3 separate regions of the Homo sapiens genome follow, and regions 1 and 3 are each linked to region 2. Evidence: promoter capture Hi-C in 16 types of primary human blood cells and fetal thymus (Javierre and others, 2016). All regions are on one chromosome and are shown on one strand. Each heading gives the region's core, a stretch centred on a gene start or on the middle of the fragment in contact. The rest is flanking DNA. Distances are from core to core; before and after follow the strand shown. Region 1 has its middle 15 kb from the start of LINC02944. Region 2 holds the start of SLC18A2 (solute carrier family 18 member A2). Region 3 overlaps FAM204A (family with sequence similarity 204 member A).

Evidence for each region. The method cuts DNA at HindIII sites, captures the fragments that hold promoters and counts their contacts. A CHiCAGO score of 5 or more calls a contact.
Region 1: a fragment that was not itself captured here is called in contact with the fragment with the promoter of SLC18A2 in region 2 in 2 of 17 cell types (total B cells and naive B cells); the score reaches 7.9 in total B cells.
Region 3: a fragment that was not itself captured here is called in contact with the fragment with the promoter of SLC18A2 in region 2 in 1 of 17 cell types (megakaryocytes); the score reaches 6.4 in megakaryocytes.

The regions. Positions count from the first base shown.
Region 1 is chr10:118,254,105-118,258,107 of GRCh38, forward strand. No RefSeq gene overlaps it. Among named protein-coding and RNA genes, the nearest start is that of LINC02944, 15 kb to the left of the region's middle. The HindIII fragment of the contact is 2,724 bases long and covers 53-2,776 here.
Region 2 is chr10:117,238,845-117,243,060 of GRCh38, forward strand. It overlaps SLC18A2 (solute carrier family 18 member A2), which reads left to right and starts at 2,270. Exons shown (of 16, transcript NM_003054.6): 1 at 2,270-2,376; 2 at 2,835-2,970. The coding sequence starts at 2,850. It overlaps SLC18A2-AS1 (SLC18A2 antisense RNA 1), which reads right to left and starts at 3,153. Exons shown (of 3, transcript NR_184310.1): 1 at 3,041-3,153; 2 at 2,817-2,939; 3 at 1-1,337. The HindIII fragment of the contact is 8,499 bases long and covers 1-4,216 here.
Region 3 is chr10:118,328,932-118,332,960 of GRCh38, forward strand. All of the region lies in intron 6 of FAM204A (family with sequence similarity 204 member A), which reads right to left. Among named protein-coding and RNA genes, the nearest start is that of FAM204A, 11 kb to the right of the region's middle. The HindIII fragment of the contact is 1,706 bases long and covers 958-2,663 here.

The DNA.
Region 1 (4,003 bases), core at 165-2,664, 1.0 Mb after region 2:
TTCAGTGCTTTAGGATTTGCCTTCCAAAAGGCAAAGACCACTAGTACAGGTAAGCTTTGAGCTGTTACACTTTGTTTATGAGGTAAAACCTTAGTCCCAGTTAATTGGACACGACTGAGGATTAAGAATGGCACACTGGGGAGGGGAGGGGAGACAGGCAGTGAAAGGGAAACTGATAGGGAAGGACAAGGGGCCTAGAATGGATTAAGCACTTACTATTTATTAGGCATTAGGCATCGTGCTAGTCCCTTTATATATTTGTTGTTTCTAAGTCCCCATAAGAACATTGAAAGATGGATGTAATTATCCCCATCTATAGATGAAGAAACTGAGGCTAAAGAGGTTGAGTAACTTGTTGTTGGTCACATTTCTAGGAAATGGCAGTGCTGGCATTTCCACACAGCATTGCCTGGCTCCATGTGCATGCCTGGCACCATGTGCACGCCTTCCATGGTGCCATGAGGACACTCCAAAGACAGAGGCGCCTCATGTTTCTGCCTGTGGTCTAGCCTCTCGCTTGGGGGAGCCAGGACTGGGATTGTGGGGACTGTTGACTGGCTCCGAGGGAGTGTCCAGAGACGGGCTGGGTGTTTCATTTCCTCCCTCAAGTCCCCATTCACCACTCCAAAGCAACCCCATGTAGGTTCAACATCAGGAAAAATAGCTTAAGTTTGCCGAGCAAGCACAAACTCCAAGCTCTAAACACGCCTTCTAACTAGACTGCCAACTCTCAGCCCCTCCTTAATGGAAAACTGGGAGCCTCCTTCAATTTACAAAGTTTTATGTTAATGTCTCTCAGACCAAATGCTCCCTGAGTGTAGGAATTGTGTCTGCTCAACTTTGGGCTGCATCTGGTTGACTACACATGCTATGTGACCTGTAATAACTTCTCAACAAATATCAGTGAAATGAATGAAGACAAATCTGTGCCTTCTTCAGTTTCCAACAGAAAAAGCCTGAATTATTACTTGGGGGCCTTCCAGGGTCCTCCCCTCAAGAGCTCCTTTCTCCAAAGACAGAAATGTCCTTGCATCTCTCAATAGCTTCTAGGGCATCTGTACATGCCTGAGCCAAGCAAGGCTTCTGACATCCTCAGGACACAGCGAACTGCCATCGCATGCCAAATGTAATGCTCCCCCAGCAAAGAAAGAAAGAGACAGAGAGAGAAGTATAGGCCCAAAGAGAGATAATGGCAAATGTATTTGTAAAAAAAAAAACAAACTGATTTGGTATGTTCTTGAAGCGTGGTGAGAGAGTGTCTTTCGTTTTCAAGAAAGGTCTGGGTAAAAGAACTCAGAGGATCCCCAAAGGCCTGGGACTGAAGGGGGGCTGTCCATAATTTATCGCTTATCTGACTAAGAGCTGTCTTGGACAGATTGAAGTCATTAGCCGGGCAGGCTTAGGCGGGAGGAACCTCTAAGGTGCCTGGCACAGCGAGCCCGGAAGGAGCAAGCACCAGCATGGTCAGATCCTAAATCTCTGAAATAAAATTACCAGGGCAGAAAAATTCAGCACATCCAGTCCCGTCCTTCCCTCCCACCTCCTTGGAGCAACATGTGCCCTTTTTTAAATATGGCACTGATAAAAATCACATCCATTTACTGCAATGTCTCTTCCATAGTCGCAAAAGAAAGGCCTTTATCATCCCCTGAATTAGATCTGTGATTTTTTTGAATGACGTGTATAATAATTAGACTGTAAAGATGTGCAGTTAATCCATTTAAAGGTGTAAAGAAGTCCATTTAATGAACATTATAGTCACATTAGACTTGGAAACATCCAACTCTTTTGTTGAATAAAAAGAAGTTCAATGAGATTAACTTCTCTTAGTTGGTTTTAAAGAATAATCAAACATGTCTTCTTCTGATAGTGTTCTGCGCCTTCTCGCATGGATTCTGCATACCAATGTCTTGCAGCCCAGAAGGGTAAGAATAAGGCCGCTGGACCTCACATTGCAGTTAAATAATTACAAATTAAAGAGGATCACTCCTACTTCCTATGCTCACTATAAAGTGATAAGAGGCTGAACTCCTTGAACTTGTAATTATATAACAGAAATGTTAATCTTCTGGTTGGTATTCTCTCCTGCTGCATTAAATGTATTCTTACGATTATCAAGTTTACCACTTGACACATAGATATCCCTACTGGGATTCCTATTTCTTGATTCTATCAGATTTTGACCACAAATGGGGTAATGGAGTCTGTTTTGAAATCTCACGCTCTTTCGTGTCTCTGTGTGAGGCTTCCCGTGAAGGCTGCTGAACTAAAACAAGTGCCCAGTATAGATGGTATCTGCTCTGACTTAGAATGGGTTAGAACCCAGATGTCCTGGCTTGCTCCTGGTGCTACTTAAAACAACCAGAGTTTAAGGCAGATGTGGACAAATTGGGAGTAATCCCGCATGACTTAAAACAACCAGAGTTTAAGGCAGACATGGACACATTTGGAGTCATCCCACATATGATGGAAAAGAAAATGCTAAATACAAGTTGCTAGACCAGCTGTACCTTGCCGCTGAGAATTCCCATTGTGTTCATGGAGTTTCCCAAGTCAGCCCTGAGAGGTAGGAACGGTCAGATTCAATCCATTAGTCTCCATCTTCTCCCTCAGATCTCTGACTTTACAACCCTCATTTTAGCTGAGGAATATATATTTTAATTTTCCTTATGCGTTTACTCCCTCTCCTGTCTATACTTACAAAGAATTTAAGACCAAGCAAGCAAACAACTTACGGGAATAGATTTCCTTTTCCAAAAATAAGCAAGGGAAAGAAAGCTTCCATAGTAAGGAAGGGCGAGCCTAGGAAGAGCTGGCGTAAATGTGGAATTAGAGTGTTAGCCTGGGAAGAGAGTGTCAGCTCTGCATCCTGTCTCTTAGCTTTGTGCCTAATGCCTCCTGCTAACTGGTGACAGTGATGGATGACGATAGAGATTGTCTAAGCCAAACTGCTAACCAGTACTGTGTTAGATCTTTTTGTAGTTTAGGAAACAAAGCTGATAAGATCAAGAGGCAACATAATCCTGGCTAATGTAGTGTGATCTGTCTTGTATAGCATAATTGGGCATTAAGCAGACATCAAACCTTAAACCAGCCATGATATTTGTAGGAGCAGAAAGGAAACTTACTTCAGCTAAAAAGAAGTTTGATTTTTAAAATAATAATAATGTGATGTGCCTTCCAGAGGGAGGAGGCTGGCCATGGCAGTGTCTAATCCTGGTCAACTTAGCCTGGAGACGCATTTCATGTTTGCACTTCTGTCTTGCTCTGGCTCATTAAAATCCTCAGAGATGAACGTCCAAGAAGGATGAAACTGGGAGAACTTGTTCCAAAATTTAACAATTAGATCACTGCCTTTTGAAACTCCCAAACATGAGCCCTCAAAAAGGACCAAGAGGACTAATGCCTTGGGCCTTCAAATGCCCTCGGAAAGGAGGTGGAGGAACATTATGTTTTGTTTTTGTAGTTATCACTCTTCTTTTTCCTGAGGTTATTTTAGTTATGCGTTCATAGCACATAGACCTTTACTAGGTAAGACCAGCAAGCAATGTGTTCATGGTATGCAAGTGAGCTAAAAGGGCAAAAGCGGAGGAAACCTTCCCTGCGATTCTGGAACCGATGTCTGAGCGCAAAAGACAACGTGTTCTTTCTGATATCTGTCTGGGTTTCTTTGTGTAGAAACTGATTTAGAGGTCAGGGCAGTTCTGGGATATTCATCCTGGCTAAAGTTTGCTAATATCACCAAGTTCACAGCTATTCAGTAACTGCTTTTAATCAACTTGAAATTTAAAATTACAGGTCAGTAAGGAATATCTATAAGATCCTTTTAAAAATGCATACACAGTAGAATCTATTCATATGCAGAAAATGTGTCAAATGGTTTTATCTCAGACAGCTACTAAGCAACAAGTCTTTTCCCCTCGTCACTGAAAGGATCATTTAAATGTGAATACATTTTTGGGTTACGTTATTAAATTTTGTTCAGATTGCACAAATAATTACA
Region 2 (4,216 bases), core at 1,020-3,519:
GGATACAATTCTGTTGGAAAACGGAATGGAAACATACTTAAAAGGGGTAAAGAACACAATGTAAATATTTTGACTGTTAAAGGGATACTTGTTTATATTCTTAAGTATAACATGGCAGTTTTGTATTCTTATACAAATTCCTTTGGGTATATTTAAAAGAGAGAGATAATAATTTTATACATAAAGGTCAATAAATACAATATACCCTATTTAAATATATGATTAAAAAACTCATTTTAGATGCCAACTTGAAAATGTGTAAGGCAAACATATTGTTAAACATTTTTTAGGGGGTTTCAACAAAAAGTCTGTTATAGGCCATAGTGCTCTAGGGGTGGTGACAGTGATCCGGAGGCGGGAACGCCGGGCTGGCATTGTCCCTGGAGCCATCTACATCCAGCTGGCTGGGCTGGAGTTTGGTGTGGCTTCCAGTGTTCACTGCTATGATGCTGCTATCAGGTCAGAATGTCAGCAGGGATTTGTCTAGGCTTTACTGTCTCCCCAGCATTAACCATAGTGCCTGGCACGTAGTAAGAGCTCAACACATATTCAGCGCATGAATGAGGGGCCGGCACTTACGGAGCTCTCACTTTGTGCCAGGCACTGTGCTAAGAGCTGCCTATGCATTCCCCTGGAATTCTCACAACCACGCTGCAGTAGGTCCAGTGAGTATCCCCATTCCAGAGATGGCGAAACTAAGCCACAAAGAGGATACATAACCAGCCCAAGGCCACCAGTCAAGGAAGTAGCAGACTGGGACCTGGGCATCCTGGCAGGCACCCTTTACCATAATGCCTCTCTGTCCCCATGTGGTCCCTGGGGTAGAGTCTGCATCCTTGGGTTCTGAAACTCCAGAGCAAGCACTCTGGGGCACTCCCTGAGTGATACCCTCCTGCCATCTTAAACGGCTCTCTGCCATCTGCTTCCTCCTCCTAAGTGGTTTTCCTTCTGTCCTCCCTGTTTAATGTTTAAGTTGTGCACATCCTGTGACATCCTGGAGACCCATGTTCCTGACCTACTTACCTATTCAACCATCTCTTCTCACACATGGGGTAGCAATGAGAAGCACAGGGGGTCTCTGCAAGGGAGTAGGGAGGTGGAGAGAGCGGGGGCAGCCACACATCACACTGCTGTTCTCAGTGGCCTCCTGCTGTCAACAAGCTAACATTAATAAAACAAGCCCACTCTTCTGCTAAGAGACTGTGACAGGGTAACATTTATTCTAGGTAGCTTTTCAAGAAAACAGCTCTTGCTCCCACGGTCCCCTCGGAGGGCCTGCAGAGCTCCAGCGATGTCAGAGGGCATCTGTTTGTTTCTCCTTTGCTTATAAAAGGGACCTGGAAATCAAAGGCAGGCTCTTAGCCCTTAGCAGTGAGGATGACAGCTCTGCACCAGCCACACGCAGGCCCCTGGCTCTAGGAACCACCTCTCACCCAGACGCCCAGGCACAGCATGGTGGGGAGAGAGTACAGGACACAGGGCCTAGGCCTGCTGCCCCGCCCACAGCCCGCCCCCTAGCCCTTTCTCTGAGGCCAGGTGTACTCACCTAGCCTCCAGGGTCCCCTGCTCAGGTGGCCCCAGAGGCCCAAACCCACTGCTCCCACTTTCTGAGACCTGGGACCCTCACCTCCCCAACTCCCACCATAGGGCGACACTGAAAAGTGTCCCCTTCCCCCCCCCGTTTCCAAGTCACCAGCTTGAGGATGCCCAAGGCTCAAAGGCTCCTCCGAGTGGCACCCCGCATCGGGCTGCAGAGGTCGGAGAGGGGAGGGGATGGTGGGTGCAAAGGGTGGCTTCTTCAGGAAAGGGAAGCCTGTCCCTGGCTCCCAGCACCTGTCACCCCTGGCGATCTCACCCCGCGGCCATCATTCCCGTCCTCACGGCCCATTTCAGGGACACTGAGGCTCAAAGAGCCACGTGATTTATTCAAAGCAGCTCGAGCCACCACTTGGAGCCACAAGAAAGCCCTGGTCCGTGCCTCCTCGCCTTGGTCCCTGGCCCTTCACTCTTCGTCCAGGCTCTCTGACCTCTTTCCCTCTGCGCCCCTGCCTCTTCCCCAGGCCTGGGTCCCCAAGGCACTCGGCCACGCGCTGGGTCCGGGGAAGAGGCGCGGCCGCGGCCGAGGCGGGGACAGGGAGGCGGCAGCCCCTCCTGCGCAGCGACGGCGCGGGCGGGCGGAGGCCGGGGCGCCCCAGCCCCCCGCCCCCGCTCCCTCCGGCCGTGACGTCAGAGCCGGACGGGGTAAACTGAGCGGCGGCGGCGGGGCGCTGGGGCGGAGACTGCGACCCGGAGCCGCCCGGACTGACGGAGCCCACTGCGGTGCGGGCGTTGGCGCGGGCACGGAGGACCCGGGCAGGCATCGCAAGCGACCCCGAGGTAACACGGCCCCGGTTCCCTGCTCGCAGGGCGCGGTGCCGGAGGGGAGCGGGCCCGGGGGAGGCAGGGAGGCAGGGAGGCCCCCAGAGCTACGCGGGCGGGGCTGCGGGGACCCCGGGGCAGCCGGGGCGCAGGGCGCAGGGCGCAAGGTGCACGGGGCCGAGCGTGCAGTTTGGGAGGTGGCACAGTTGGGGGCGGCGGGGATCAGGGCAGCGTCCTGGGGGTTCTAGGTTGGGTCTCCAGATTGGGTCCCCGACGGCGCTCGCGGGCGCTCTTTCCAGGGAGCGCGGGCTCTCGTGGGGACGCGCTCGAGGCAGGTGAGCCGAGGCTGGGGCGCCCGGGGGTGTCCCCGGATGCCGGTGCGCGCGGCTCCCTGACCCGCCCTTCCGCGGCCTGGGGGACGGGAGAATGGGGGGTCCACGGCCGCCTTGGGTCCTCACCGCGCACCGCGCCCGCAGCGGAGCCCCGGAGCCATGGCCCTGAGCGAGCTGGCGCTGGTCCGCTGGCTGCAGGAGAGCCGCCGCTCGCGGAAGCTCATCCTGTTCATCGTGTTCCTGGCGCTGCTGCTGGACAACATGCTGCTCACTGTCGTGGGTACGTGCGGACAGGGCACCCCTGCCCCGGCACCCCAGCCCCAGCGCCCCTTCCCCGGCACTCCACTTACCCCTGCGCGGTCCCGGAGCTCCGCCAAGGCCCGGGAAAGTTGGAGAACTCGCTTTGCAAAAAAGACATCCCCTCCAGGCTGCCGCGCCGGGGCTAGGAGGAGCCGCGTTGTGTGGCTTCGCTTTCCTGATGCTCGGGTCAAAAACTGTGACATCCGATAAGACCCAGAACTTATGTTTCCCCCTGATAATTTCCCGCATCCTCTTGCCTGCTTTCACTGCGATGAAAAAGATTTCTGTTCCAAAAGAGAAATTCCTAAAGTTCAAAATTACGTGTTAGAATAATTATTGGGCTACTCGAAAAGGCAGGTTAGTAATTTGGTGTAGTACCTAAAAGAGCAAGTTTCGATCCCTTACTCCAAAAACAAGACATTTAGATATACTGTATTAGTGAATGACTTGAGATGGAAATATTTCAGGAACCATTGCAAGAACAATTTGAACAATCTTGGTTCTATTATTTTTCCTATAGTGGAATTTTGAAAAATTAAATAATCGAAATCCAGGTCCCTTAATTAGGCCCATTAACAGAGAAGTATTTGGCATGCATTTCCTTAAAAAAAAAAATCCCAGTTTTTAATGAATGAAAAAAAAATCACGACTCATTTAGACTGTAAGTGGTGGGAGCTGTTTCCTTTCTCTCCATTTGCAGGTTTTCTCACAGCAGTTTTCAGAGCATCTGATAGGTTTCATCTCGAGGAGTTATCAGAGCCGTGGAGCTCATCCCTGTTCAGTACCAACGGCATTAGTTCTGCTTCGGCTCGAATGCTCCATTGGACACATGTGCTCACAGCTTCGATTATATGTTTCACAATTTAATTTGTATTTTTTGTTGTTGCTTTTTATTTTGGTTTTTGTTTGTTTTTTTGAAATGGAGTCTCACTCTGTTGCCCAGGCTGGAGGGCAGTGGCACAGTCTTGGCTCACTGCAACCTCCACCTCCCGGGTTCAAGTGATTCTCCTGCATTAGCCTCCCGAGTAGCTGGGTTACCGGCATGCCCCACCAAAGCTGGCTAATTTTTGTATTTTTATTAGAGACAGGATTTTGCCATGTTGGCCAGGCTGGTCTTGAACTCCTGACCTCAGGTGATCTACCCGCCTCGACCTCCCAAAATGCTGGGATTACAGGCCTGAGCCACCGTGCCTGGCCTGTTTCAGTTTTGCTTTTTCCTTGTGAAA
Region 3 (4,029 bases), core at 561-3,060, 1.1 Mb after region 2:
TTCTATGAGCTGGTTTAGCTCTCTAAATAATTAGAAACACCTGACTTCTCCCCTGTACCAATACCTACATCTCCAGCTACTTGCTAATCATCTTCACACTGAAGGCCTACAAAGGCAAGGTCTTCAATTTCATGATGTCTGTAACAAGCCCAACACTTGCTGCCCTGCTTCTCCTCCTCCTCAGTCACCCTTGATAGAATCCTCAGTTATCTTCAATGCTTCCAACCCCTTGCTCCTATCTGAACTCTATTTTGGCAAAAGTCTCTCATTTCTTCCTTCTGTGCTTCTTCAGGGACACGTGATCCCTTATTTGGAATATTATAACCATCTCCAAACTAGTCTTCTCTTTCTGAAACAGGCATCATGTCATTACCCAGCTTAAAGCATTACTTCATATTCCCTCTGAATAACATCCCACTCCCTTCACAATGGGGTCCCCAGATGCTTTCTCAACCCCATCTTCAGCAATTAAAAAGCTATGCTTTTTAATCTCTGGTCACATTTACCATTTTCCTAATGTTCCCTGTGCCTCTGATGTGCTTCTCTTTGAAAAATATTAATCATCCCTTTAGGCTCACGTCGAATGTTACCTTCTCTATCTACGCAGAGCTCCTCAGCCCTACATTCCTATGACCCCATCACCCTCCCCAAACCCCACACCAGGCTCTCCACTCTGTGCTGTTGCTGTACCTTGTGTCCCTTCAGCACCTAACTTGTCTGACACACTACAGTGAGTTGTGTATTCTCCCCTCTTGAGTCCTATACTCAGTGAGAGCAGGCTGTGTGTCACCGGCTTGGTGTGTCCCAGAATCCAGCCCAGTTCCTTCTACATAGAAGACATTTGTTCAGTCTGTGCTACTGAGCTGATATTCACACTGCCGTCATCCATGTTTGCATTCATAGTGAAAGGACCCCACTCAAACTGGGAACATTTATTACATACCAACTACTCTGAGAAGCTTCCAGAGAATTCACAACTGTAATATTGAAGTAATAATGCCCCTATGGTTAAAAAAAGGTACACGTATTGTACTCATTTATATATACATCTATCCTGGTACTAGAATATATACATTCCTCAAGGGCATGGAGAGTATCTTCTCCATCTTGGGCTCCCAGAGCTTAAAATAGTACCTGCACCTAGAACTTTATTTAATTTTTACTGAAAATAGTTATTTTCTTTAAAAAATGTAAATACAACAGCCTCATTTTCCTGTGCAGAATATTAACCATCGCCTCAAATGTCACTGACACATATTTGTATGTGTCAAAATCTATTTGTATAAAACATTAATATCAAACTACAAGTTTCCTTGCACTACAAATTCTTGCATAGCCTGATACCTCAACTCAGAACTTATCCAATCTCACGCAGGGAAGCAATCAAACTAGACCTGCTCCAACCATTCATCTCAACAACCTGCTCACTAACAGCTTCCATTCTTTTGCCTGTCCATTCCCCCAGCCATTAAGATCATAATCTAAAGGTAATAGCATATTACAGTGGAAAGAGCACAGGACTAGAAGACAGGAGATGTGGTCAAAGCTCTGGGTAAATGACATACTTGACTCATAAGCCTCTGTTTCCTCAAAGATAATAAGAAGACTGGCTTGAATGAGTAACCCTCCTAGAAATAAAAATTCTAGGTTTCTATCACATTTTCAGCTTTGTTTTTAGCCCTTTTCTCTTTCTGACAATTTATTTAAATAAAATGTACTACCTTCTTTTAGCTCTGAAAAACTCCTGGTTCCATGTACACCCAAACTTTGTTTCCATAAGAACTTATTAATATTCCAAATACACTCAAAACACTTAGTAAAACATTCCCATCTCCTTAAAGACTGTAAGTTCACAGCAGCTCACAAAGAGCACAGCTGGCAGGATCAGACCTAGGTTCAGACTAGCTCCTCCACTTATGAACTAAGCAACCCTGAGTGAGTTTCTAAACCTCTGTGGGTTGCAGTTATCTTACACATGCAATAAAATGAGAATAAAACCACATTCTCTGCAAGATTATGATGAGTCAAAGAACATATATATAGAATACCTAGCCACGTTTTTAGAATATAGTAGTCATTCAATAAATAATAAGGTGCTCCTATTATTAAACCTAAATATCAGGATACCATTATTGCAAAAGAGAAGGCTTATCTCTATAAGGCTACAGACTGCATTATACTTCTTCAAGCTCAGACCCAAGTACAAGACCCAAGCATTCCACTTTGTCAGTAAGCAATCTCATGAAATAGAGTCTGAGTATTAAGGCTTTTTGAAAAGTTTTAAGCTGGACTCAAGAGTAGCCTTTATTTGACTTATCTAGAATGTCTTCCATACTATAGGAGTGGCAGGAGGCACAGAGGAGCTACTGATAGCCTGCAGCACCTTGGTGTGCTTCTAAGTTGCCTTTTGGCTAGAATCAAAACATAATTTATGATATATCTCAACACAGACAAACCTAGGAATGGCAATTTGGCCACAGGTGAAAAATTTATCTAAACGAAGTATCTAACCCACGAGGCAACAATTGCCAATTAATTAAGTTTTAATATAGATGTCAAGAAGACAGGACTACAAATATCTAAGAAATGTATGGGTACTTGGTTTAACATTGTGGGCTAACATCTATATGTGCATATGTAGAATATCTTTTATATGTGGTTAAAGCTTTTAAAGTCAAACTATACCACAATATATTTATATGAAAATTCTGCTATTAAATATTTATTCTGTTAATATATTCAATTTTTAAAGCTTAACACAAATGAATTATCCATTGAAGTTTGCATTACTGAACCTAAATATCTAGGAAAAAATGAGGCAATCTCTTCATAAAGAAAGGCAGTGGAGGGGCGGAAGAGGTACTTTCATACATAAATGTAAATCATATATTTATTCATAATTTTGTTACCTTTATATATATATATATATATATAATCATACCCACTTAAAATCAATTGAGTCGGCTGGGTGTGATGGCTCATGCCTATAATTCCAGCACTTTGGGAGGCCAAGGCAGGCGGATCACAAGGTCAGGAGTTTGAGACCAGCCTGGCCAATATGGTGAATCCCCATCTCTACTAAAAATACAAAAATTAGCTGGGCATGATGGCGCACACCTCTAGTCCCAGCTACAGGAAGCTGAGGTAGAAGAATGGTTTGCACCTGGGAAGTGGAGGATGCAGTGAGCTGAGATTGCACCACTGCATTCCAGCCTGGGCAACAGAGCAAGACTCTGTTTCAGAAAAAAAAAAAAAAAATCATATGAGTCAGGTAAATAAAAACCAGGTTCAGAAAAAATCTAGATTTGGGACCAAATGACTTGGGTTTAAAGTCTCATTTCACTTCTCACCTGGTTTGTTTTCTTAGGCAAATTATGCTGAGCTTCAGTTTCTTTATCTGTATTCTGAGAATAACACTGGACCTATCAACCTACCCCACGGAAATCACACAGGAACCAAGAGGCAATGGTTTACAACTGATACCAGGGGATCTTCATGGTACCACTACAACACTCCCCATACCTCTCTCACCACACCCCTAAACCTCCCTCTCCTATACCTCCTCCCTCCACATCCCTATGCCCCTCCCTCCACATCCTAATGCCCCTCCCTCCACATCCCTATGCCCCTCCCTCCACCCACTCAAGGAAGCCAGCCTTTTAACTGATCTATGTATTGGAGAACCATGTAAGAGTCTGTTTGGAAAAAGCACTCTGCTAAAAACAAACAAACAAACAAACAAAAAAAACCAAGTTCGAAAAAGCTACACTATACAATAGCAGTTTCCTCTCATAAAAAACTTGAAAAATTCATCAAAGACATTGTACAATTACTCTAACATTTAATAAAGTACCTCTGGTTTTTCATGCCAAAAAGTATCCATTAGGTATACATAAAACTACTTCAATAATGACTGCTGACTAATCAAACTGATTCAACTAAAGAATACTTGAGACATTTATAGTGAAATTAATGAGTGAAATTTATTCTAAAGAAATTCCCACAGATTCAAAATAATTATGTTATGAT